Linked DNA regions of Homo sapiens: all the other regions are linked to region 1. The links are contacts of gene promoters, found by promoter capture Hi-C in blood cells and fetal thymus (Javierre and others, 2016). All regions are on one chromosome and are shown on one strand. Each heading gives the region's core, a stretch centred on a gene start or on the middle of the fragment in contact. The rest is flanking DNA. Distances are from core to core; before and after follow the strand shown.

Region 1 (3,165 bases), core at 666-3,165:
GTGATTTCTGCCCTTCTTTATTTATCGCCTTCATACTAAAGGACATTAGCCAGGTAATATCAATAACTATTTTCAAATGAGAGAAACAGAAACAATCATTTGAAATAAATTCAGCTACAATGCTTTTGTTTATTTACTGTACAAAATGATTAATGTTCACCAGTATTATTATTTCATTCTTTAGGATCATTTCTGTCTTCAAAAAGCAAATATTTATTTGAGGACTTACTAAATGCTCAAAATGCTGGAATACTTGAGGTTCTTATAGTCTGACCGACGAGAGAGATACCTTAATCATTAAAAATATGTATACCATTATACAATTGGTAAAAGTGGTTTGTGCATAGATCAAGAATGCATCATGGCTGCTAAGTCATGCCAAAGTCAATTGATTCTTCTTATTCCAATTCTACACCTGTAGGGTAATATACTGACAGTGGGGATGGGAAATACATGTAACTCAAATGGTATGTCAACAAATAATATTAATTAAGCAATCATCTCTCTCTCTCTCTCACACACACACACAGACAGCTACCGAGTTTGCAAAAACCGGATTTTGCAGAGCAATGGTCCTATCTATCTCATATTGTCTGAAATTCCTTTCTTTTTTTTTCTTTCTTTCTTTTTCTTTTCTTTTCTTTTTTCTTTTTTTTTTTTTTGAAACGGAGCCTCGCTCTCTCGCCCAGGCTGGAGTGCAGTGGCGCGATCTCGGCTCACTGCAAGCTCCGCCTCCCAGGTTCACGCCATTCTCCTGCCTCAGCCTCCCGAGTAGCTGGGACTACAGGTGCCCACCACCATGCCCGGCTAATTTTTTGTATTTTTAATAGAGACGGCGTTTCACCGTGTTAGCCATGATGGTCTCGATTTCCTGACCTCGTGATACACCCGCCTCGGACTCCCAAAGTGCTGGGATTACAGGCGTCAGCCACTGCGCTCGGCCTATTGTCTGAAATTTCTATCTAGAAATCTTTCCCCATAGTACTTAGAGGATTTTTATAGAGATCTTGAATTTTCTTTCAAAATAATTTTAAAATTAGACCAATTTAAAATCCCATCATGGTCATCTTGGCCTTATGGCTTCAAATAAAACTAAAGCAAGGAATTCAACATAAATACATATTTAGCTGTTGCTATGTTTGAAGCCTTGTGCTAAAGTATGGTACAAAGTTGATTCTGTCAGGGAGAAGCACAAGGAAAGGCACTTTTACAACGGCATGTTGGTCCAGTAAAAGTTCTGCAGCTACTCCTCTCTAATTTAAAAACATATATATATATATTATATATATATATATATATAGCTGCATTAGACACTTAGGTTTTGCAAAAGATGCCTTCATTTCTCATGATGGTATATACATACGTTCTGGATTACTTGTTACTTAAAAATACTGACTTTTGTCCCACGTGTTCCAATTTTAGGTTACATAAATGAGCACACTACTCCGGACCCACATCTCCTGTAATTCAGTGCCTAACTTTCTACCAACAAAGATCCGTGCCTTTCATCCTGAAGTGGGCATAACGGAAAGAGACGCAGAAACCTACGTGGGTTTAAATCCTAGAGGGCTTTGGTGAAAAGTCCCTAATCTCGGTTTTCCACGTCACTCAAATGCAGGGCCACATTAGATAGCCTTTTCAAGGTCCTTCGCATCTGCAGACTTCTGCGATTAAAACGCATCTCTTTTTGGAAGATAATTCACCTGAAGCTCCTCTGGGAAATTAGCTTGCTGAGGGCCAGACCAACAACCGGGTAGGAGCGAATCTGGTTTCTCTTTGAAAAGCCTTCCTAGGGTTAGCATCCAGGGCCAGCAACGGAGCGCGCCCCCGAACCACGTGTCTGCGCCAGCTGCCGGATTGGCTGAGCGCATTTTAGCGCTGCGGTCTAGACGCTCGCGGTCCCGCCCAGTTGCCAGAGGAGCCGGGACACCGAGGGAAGAGGCCGGAGGGAGATCGCGGAGGGGAGGGGGCGGGAGGGGGGTGGGGTATCCTGAGTCGTCCGTGGTCCGGAGTCTGGAAGGCCCTAGAGCGGCGCCAGTCGACCCGCCTCGCCACAACTTGCCCAGACCAGACACGTTTCATCCTGCGCCCTGCAAGAAGGAGCCGGCCTGCCTCTCTCCGCTTTGCTGCTCCTCGGCCTCCGCGGGCCCGGCCCGCGTCAGCAGCGACCCTGGGGTCTGGGTCCCCTGTGTCGCCCCCGCCCGCCTGCAGCGCCCGGCACCCGCCCAGGAGCGCGCAGCTGGGGTGAGCCGAGACCGGGGATGCGCCAGGCGCCCACAGGAGGTGGCTGACGGGGCATCCCGATACCCGCGAAGCCGGCCCTCCTGCCTCTCCAGGCTGCGAGCCGAGCCTCTGCAGATCCAGCTGGAGTAGCCGCCGCTGCCCCCACTGCCTGTTTGCCTTCCAAGGAAGGGCGCCGAGGTTCCCCTGGAACCCGCGTCTCTCGGCTTTTGTCTGCTGGTTCGGCTGCCCGGCGGTGCCATGCGCCTGGGACTTGAGGCGCCGCGCAAGGCTGGGGGCCCTGCCCGGGATGGGGGAGGGAGGGAACGGGAAAGCATGCCCCCTTCTTTCCTGTTCCGGCCATCTTGTGACCGAGATCCACGCAAGGGGAAAGGGGTGGTCAGCGGCACGACGCCCCACGATGGAGTGTGGCGGCCAACGGAGATGGGTACCTCGGGCCCGCAGGCCTCTGCGCCCAGATCTCAGCGGGGGCGCGCGGGCCACCCCCACGTTCAGCTCTGAAGCCCTTGGCCCAGATCATGGGTTAATCGTTCTAACAGGCCAGAGGCAGCAAAAATAGGAGGGATAAAGGGCCAGGAGCTGATGTTTCCTTAACTAAGCGCCTAAGTCATTCGATCGTTCTTCATTCACGTGTCCATTCAGCAAATTCTGAACGCCTTCTCCGTGCCTGTCCTCTGCTAGGTTCTAGGGACGTATACTTGAGCAAGAGAGACCACAGCTCTTGTTCCCGCTGATCCTGCAGCCCAGTGGATGGAGTCCAGAATCTACAGACCTGCCAGGTCGGTGTCTTGATGCTCTTAAACAGATGGAGGAAGCTAAGTCTTAGAGCTGACAATTTGTTCTAGATCAGGGAGCAAGTAAGTGACAGAATCAAACTTTGAAACTATTTATGTCTTTAGCACTTTTTATGCCTGGTTGCAGGGA
Region 2 (3,165 bases), core at 358-2,857, 100 kb after region 1:
GCCCTAACTCCTGTGGTTGCTGATAAGGTTTGGATCTGTCTGCACCACATCTCATGTAGAATTGTAATTCCCGGTATTGGAGGTGGGGCCTGATGGGAGGTGACTGGATCATGGGGGTAGATTTCTCACGAATGGTTCAGCACCATCCCCTTGGGGCTGTTCCCGTGATAGTGAATGAGTTCTCGTGAGATCTGGTCATTTAAAAATGTGTAGCACTTCCCACCTCGCTCTCTTGCTCTTGCTCTGGCCATGTGACCATGTGACATGCAAGCTTCCACTTCATCTTCCGCAATGATTGTGAGTTTCCTGAGGCCTCCCCAGAAGCCAAGTAGATGCCAGCATCATGTTCCTGTACAGCCTGCAAAACCTAGCAATTAAACCTTTTCTCTTTATAAATTACCCAGTCTCAGATATTTATAGCTATGTGAGAATGGACTAACATAGTTGTGAGGTAACAAACATAGAATACATTTTTACATATGAAAAATATAAGGTCAGTTCAGCCTTGGGAGTGTTATTGTTTGTTCTTAATCATTAAACTTGGGTGCAATGTATGGAAATAGCACTGGACTGGCATTTAAATGACCTGCCATCTATTCTAGCTGTCACTACCTTGCTGTTCATTTACATTTGATTGGGCCCATTTTTCCCGTCTAAAAAGTGAGTGTGGAAAAAAAGTGAGTGTGTCAAAACAAGTCTCAAAAGCTCTGCCTAGATCTAGTGATAGAGGAAGTAATAAAAAATGCAATGGGAGAATATTGTCTCCTCCTCCCCTTCAGACAGTGCAAACAAAGGAAAAACAAGAAGGAACAGGGGAAACAGAAAAAAACTAGAAAGAGAGGGAGGCTCAGACGCAGAGTGTGATGGGGTCATTGTACACATATGCAGCTAGCAAGAGAGGGAACCAGGGAGAAATCTCTTTCTCACTACTCCAGAGATTTGCCCTTTAGTTTTCAAAGTTGGCTTAAGTTTTGCCCATACTTGCCCCAGCTGCCCCAGTTTCTCCTAATTATGCTCACTTGCGTATAGTTGCCTCTTAATTAGAAGCAAAGAACAGTAACTTGCAGCCTGGTCATTCTGAATTCCTCCCTGCCTCCAACAAGTGTTAGAAAGGAAAGGCAGACGAGTTCCGTTTATTTTCTGCACAAGGCCTGATTTCCTTTACAACTATTCTCAAGCATCGGTGCCTATGTTTGCTTTCATGGTTGGAATTAAGCATTTGTAGAAGGTCCCTCGGCAGGTTAATGACAGAGCCAGATTTAGCATGCACAGCTGCTGCATTCTCAGTGTGGGCCCTGGGCCACTGGGCCACGTGGCCATTCCACCCAGTGTTCCAAGTCACATACTTGTCAACTGCAAGCCACTTCCTAAGCCAGTAGTTGTGAACAAGCTTTATTAAACATGACACGTCCACAAGAGCAGAACACCCAAACCTCAAAACTTGAAAAATACTACTTATCTCTTCTAGTTCAAGCAAAAAGTGTCACATAGTAGTAAACTGGTATCGTCAGTGTCAGTGGAAAAAAGCAATGTCTCTCCCCAACCCCCAAAAAAACTTCACTCCCTATATCAATTACTCAAGCTATTAAGTTAGACTAACAGGCTTGATCATATTTTACAGGTGACAAAAGTAGCCAACGTTAAGAATTAACATCACTTCTCATTTCCCAGTCCGAGCCACTAACTAGCATGCAATTTTGTTTAGTTATTTGTCTGATATTTTCAAAGAATGCATATATGCCAAGTATTTGTTACCTAATGCATATTAACAACTAAAAAGTGGTCTTTTGTAATTAATGTAAGCAGTTCTTAAAAGTAAGCTTTTTTTTTGAGACAGAGTCTGTCTCTGCTCTGCTGCCCAGGCTGGTGTGCAGTGGTGCTATCTTGGCTCACTGCAACCTCCACCTCCCAGGCTCAAGCGATTCTCTTGCCTCAGCCCCCACCAAGCAGCTGAGATTACAGGCGCATGCCACCATGCCAGGCTAATATTTATTTATTTATTTATTTATTTATTTATTTATTTATTTTTGAGACAGAGTCTCCCTCTGTTGCCCAGGCTGGAGTGCAGTGGCGTGATCTTAGCTCACTGTAACCTCCATCTCCCGGGTCCAAGCGATTCTTCTGCCTCAGCCTCCCAAGTAGCTGGGACTACAGGCATGCACCACCATGCCCGGCTAATTTTTGTATTTTTAGTAGAGACGGGATTTCATCATATTGGCCAGGCTGGTCTTGAACTCCTGACCTCAGGTGATCCACCCACCTCGGCCTCCCAAAGTGCTGGAATTACAGGCGTGAGCCACCGCGCCTGGCCACGTCAGGCTAATTTTTATATTTTTGGCAGAGAAGGGGCTTCACCATGTTGCCCAGGCTGGTCTTGAACTCCTGACTTTAGGTGATCTGCCCACCTCGACCTCCCAAAGTGCTGATATTACAGGCGTGAGCCACCTTGCCCAGCCAAAAGTAAACATGTGTTAAAGGGTCAAGATTATCTTTTGAAAGCTGAATAAAATACTGTACTCTATGGGATGTTGCAAATTTCTATAGAAACAGAATTATAACTATGGGAGCTGAAAATAATGAGTGCCTTCTTCATTCCACAGTTTTTCTAAAAAAAAGGAATATGTAAGTGTTCTCAGGACAATATTCTGGAAAGGTAGAAAATACAGTTTCAATAAGAAATAAAGCCATCTTGTAATTAACTTTTTATTACTAACTTACCTTTGTATATTATTCAAGCCCTTAAATAATGCAACAACTTTCTTCCAGCTGCTCTTTTCTAATTGACTCCTTTAAAATTTTTATTATAAAGTCAGATTCATCTTCTAAGCAAATTAATTCAGAACGTGAATGTTACTCCAATGAATATAGCAAACCTCTTAGTCATGTACCAACTAAAAAATGATCATTTGAGAGAAGGCATATTGAAACAATACTGTATTCCCACATGTCTCAATATAAATACTGAAGGTGAAAACAGATTCACAATCCAATTGTAATGCCAGCATCCTCACTTTTTCTTCTGTGTTGTTTTAAGAGTCCAGTGACTTTGGTTCCTTTGTACCCTCTACTTTTACATTGCTATCCTCAAACATTTGATCTGGTTTCTATTCTTGGAGAGCAATAAAATGTTTTAGAAATGTAACAAAGTTCAGCTGGGCACGGTGG
Region 3 (3,165 bases), core at 340-2,839, 100 kb before region 1:
TTTAACCAAGAACATATAAAACAATCAAACTTTTATATATCATTTATACTCACAAATCTTCAAAAATTAAAGTATAAGAATCCTGTAATTGGTAAATATAAAATAGGCATAACATAAATTTGATCTTTTCAAACTAGACTCAGAAATCATCCATTATATAGTATCAACAATAAAGATAGGAATATGTCATCTATTCAACTTCTACACTTCACAATGAGGAAAATAAGGTCCTTAGAAGGCAAGAACTTTCAAGGCCACTTACACAAAATGTATAAAGTCTACACTTTACACTTTTTTTGAGAAGGTAATAAGGTCACATGGTGTAATCTTCCTCCAGAAGGTAATCAGTGTTATCAGTTTCTTGCATATCTTTCCAGGGGTATTTTATCCACATTCAAGCAAATATGTATGTTCTTACATTTATGCAGATAGTAGCAACTATCCTATTCTGCACTTTGTAAAACTGTCCATACAGTTGAGACCTGTGCCCATATTCTACAGAAGTCATCTTCAAAGGATGCATATGGACAATTACTAATTATAACAGAGGGCAGAACAGCGCAGTGCTTCAGAGTGCAGGCCCTGGAATCTAAAACCTACTTGCCAACTACTGGTGTAATCTTGAGCAAGTTACTAAACTGCTCTAAGCCTCAATTTCCTCTGCTGTAAACTGAGACTACGAATATAGCAGTCCTCTGCCCCTAGAGGTGGAATAATCCATGCAAACCACTCAGCAACACACCCAGTACATGGTGAGTGCTGCACAAACCATGGCTGAAGTACAAAGTCAAATCTAAAACTCAAGGTTCCTACCTCTTGTTCCAAAGCTTTTCTTTTTTCTTCAAAGTGTATTGAATACAACTTTACAAAAGAGTGTCAACCTAAATAACAAGCATTCTTCAAAGAGTTTATTGAACTGAGTTTATTCTGGAGTGTGCAGGGGATTTGCAAATCCAGCATATGAGGGCTATAGGGACCACAGGCATATCCAAACAGGTTGAAGCCAGGAGAAGCTTTTAAAGGCAAAAGGGAAAAGCATAAGGAATTTGTTTGAAAACAAAGAGAACATTGGATACAGGGGAGACTGTGTCAGTCAAATGTTCTTATGCATCCAGCTAGCTATCCTTGTGACTCACGTAGCAAGCTGCAGTTTGAGCTGCAGTGGCCGCTGCAGGTGGGGAATGTCAATGGGGCTCCATGGATGTAGAGATGCAGGGACTGCTGGCAAAAGTTCTTATTACAGGCATATGTGCAGAAGAGCCCTTCAGAGATGCTTTGTAGCAGTTCTTACGATAGACGTGTGTGAGAGCTCCCTTCTTAACCTCCTGGCTTTATTTATTTTTTGTTAGAATTTAATACAAGTGACTTCATTTTGATTCTGACAACTCTCACAAGGGAAAAGAGCTAGAAACTTCAAATAATTGTCATTCATATCATATTAATTTAACAGACATAAAAATTTTATGTAGTTATCAACATTTACAATTTTTATATTGCCATTTAATTGACATTATTATGTATGCCCAAGTTTATAAACCAAACCTTAAATAATTCTTATTAATGAATATTATTCTATTATATAGATACAACATTCTCTAATAGTTTCCAGAGCAAATAGAGCCCCAGTAAGTGTCTCTGGGCAAAATGTTTTTCTCTCGTAATACTTAATGCCAGACTGTACCGCAAAAGCTCTGCTTATGTTTGCAGTGTCAACATATTATATGACTGAAAACATTTCCTTTAAGACCTATCAATATTACGCTGTAAAATACGTCTTGATTTTTGCTCAACTTAATGACCAGTGGTCTCTGAATAGTTTTAACATTCATCTCTTCATTTGGAAGACTGCGCACTGTATGCACTGATTTTGAATTTGTATTTCTTGTGTTACCTGCCTGATAATATTCTTTTATCTTCTGTCCTGTGGAATCAAGGTTCCGAATGCTTAAAATTTAATCAATTTTTTAATATGTTAAATAAATTTTTCTCAGCATTCCAATTCCATGACCCTGTGTCTCCCTCTCTACCGTCCTTGAGCAGGACTATACATATTGATCAAAGTACATACATATGAATTTGCCAATTGTTAATCTGAATTTTAAGTCCTACAATGAGTTTGGACAAACTATTCCAGGTACCCTAAATTTACTTCAAACAAAGCTTAACATAAAATGATTCTGAAATATATGAATCCTGTGCTTGTATTTTTCTCTAAACCAAATCCAATCTAATTATAATTATTCTTACATGCATACAAAATTGTTTTAATATAACTTTTAAAAATGACTTGTAGTTTTGAAATTTAACTTGGTCTCCCATCTGAATGCCCACTAAGATTTCTCTCATAGAATTAAGTACAAGGTGAGTACTTTCCTATGAAATAATCACAAAAATATTATCCCATGCAAAAGTTGGAATTTAAAACATACCATTTACAATCACAGTAAAAATATAAAATACTTAGGTATACACTTTTTAAAAAAATGTAAAAAACACATACAGTATCTGTATATTAAATTAAAAATTGCTGATGAAAAATACTGAAGGAGACCTCAACAAATGGAGACATCCCTACTATGTTCATGCACTGGACTCAACATAATAAAGGTGTCAATTCTCCCCAAATTAATCTGTAAGTTTATTACGACTCCTAACCAAATATCTCAAGACTTTTTATAAACACAGACAAGTTTATTCTAAAATGTATATGGAAAGACACCAACCTTAAAATATCTAAAACAATTTTGACAAAGAACAAAAGAAGAATCACTTTACCCAATATTAAGGATAACTACTATTAAATAAGCAGGAGGCAGCCGGGCGTGGTGGTTCAGGCCCATAATCCCAGCACTTTGGGAGGCCAAGGTGGGTGGATCATTTGAGGTCAGGAGTTCAACACTAGCCTGGCCAACATGACAAAATCCTATTTCCACTCAAAACACAAAAAATTAGCTGGGTGTGGTAGCGGGCACCTATGATCCCAGCCACTAGGGAGACTGAGACAGGAGAATTGCTTGAACCCAGGAGGCAGAGGTTGCAGTGGGCCGAGATCATGCCACTACACTCCAGCCTAGGTGAGAGGGCAAGACTCTGTCTCAATCAATCAATCAATAAGCAGGAGGCCAGTGGCCTGAGGCTGTCTCCATACTTTCAGTTCCCACTTAA

What was found. The method cuts DNA at HindIII sites, captures the fragments that hold promoters and counts their contacts. A CHiCAGO score of 5 or more calls a contact.
Region 2: a contact is called between a fragment that was not itself captured here and the fragment with the promoter of DZIP1 in region 1, in 3 of 17 cell types (monocytes, M0 macrophages and M1 macrophages). The highest score is 6.3, in monocytes.
Region 3: a contact is called between a fragment that was not itself captured here and the fragment with the promoter of DZIP1 in region 1, in 1 of 17 cell types (neutrophils). The highest score is 6.7, in neutrophils.

What each region holds. Positions count from the first base shown.
Region 1 is chr13:95,643,456-95,646,620 of GRCh38, reverse strand. DZIP1 (DAZ interacting zinc finger protein 1) reads left to right here and starts at 1,915. Exons shown (of 23, transcript NM_198968.4): 1 at 1,915-2,244; 2 at 2,923-3,020. RefSeq lists an enhancer at 1,703-1,752 and silencers at 1,843-1,952, 2,043-2,132, 2,193-2,302. The HindIII fragment of the contact is 11,159 bases long and covers 1-3,165 here.
Region 2 is chr13:95,539,164-95,542,328 of GRCh38, reverse strand. It overlaps a transcript of CLDN10 not described here. Among named protein-coding and RNA genes, the nearest start is that of CLDN10-AS1, 6.8 kb to the right of the region's middle. The HindIII fragment of the contact is 430 bases long and covers 1,393-1,822 here.
Region 3 is chr13:95,743,508-95,746,672 of GRCh38, reverse strand. All of the region lies in intron 4 of DNAJC3 (DnaJ heat shock protein family (Hsp40) member C3), which reads right to left. Among named protein-coding and RNA genes, the nearest start is that of DNAJC3, 68 kb to the right of the region's middle. The HindIII fragment of the contact is 1,147 bases long and covers 1,016-2,162 here.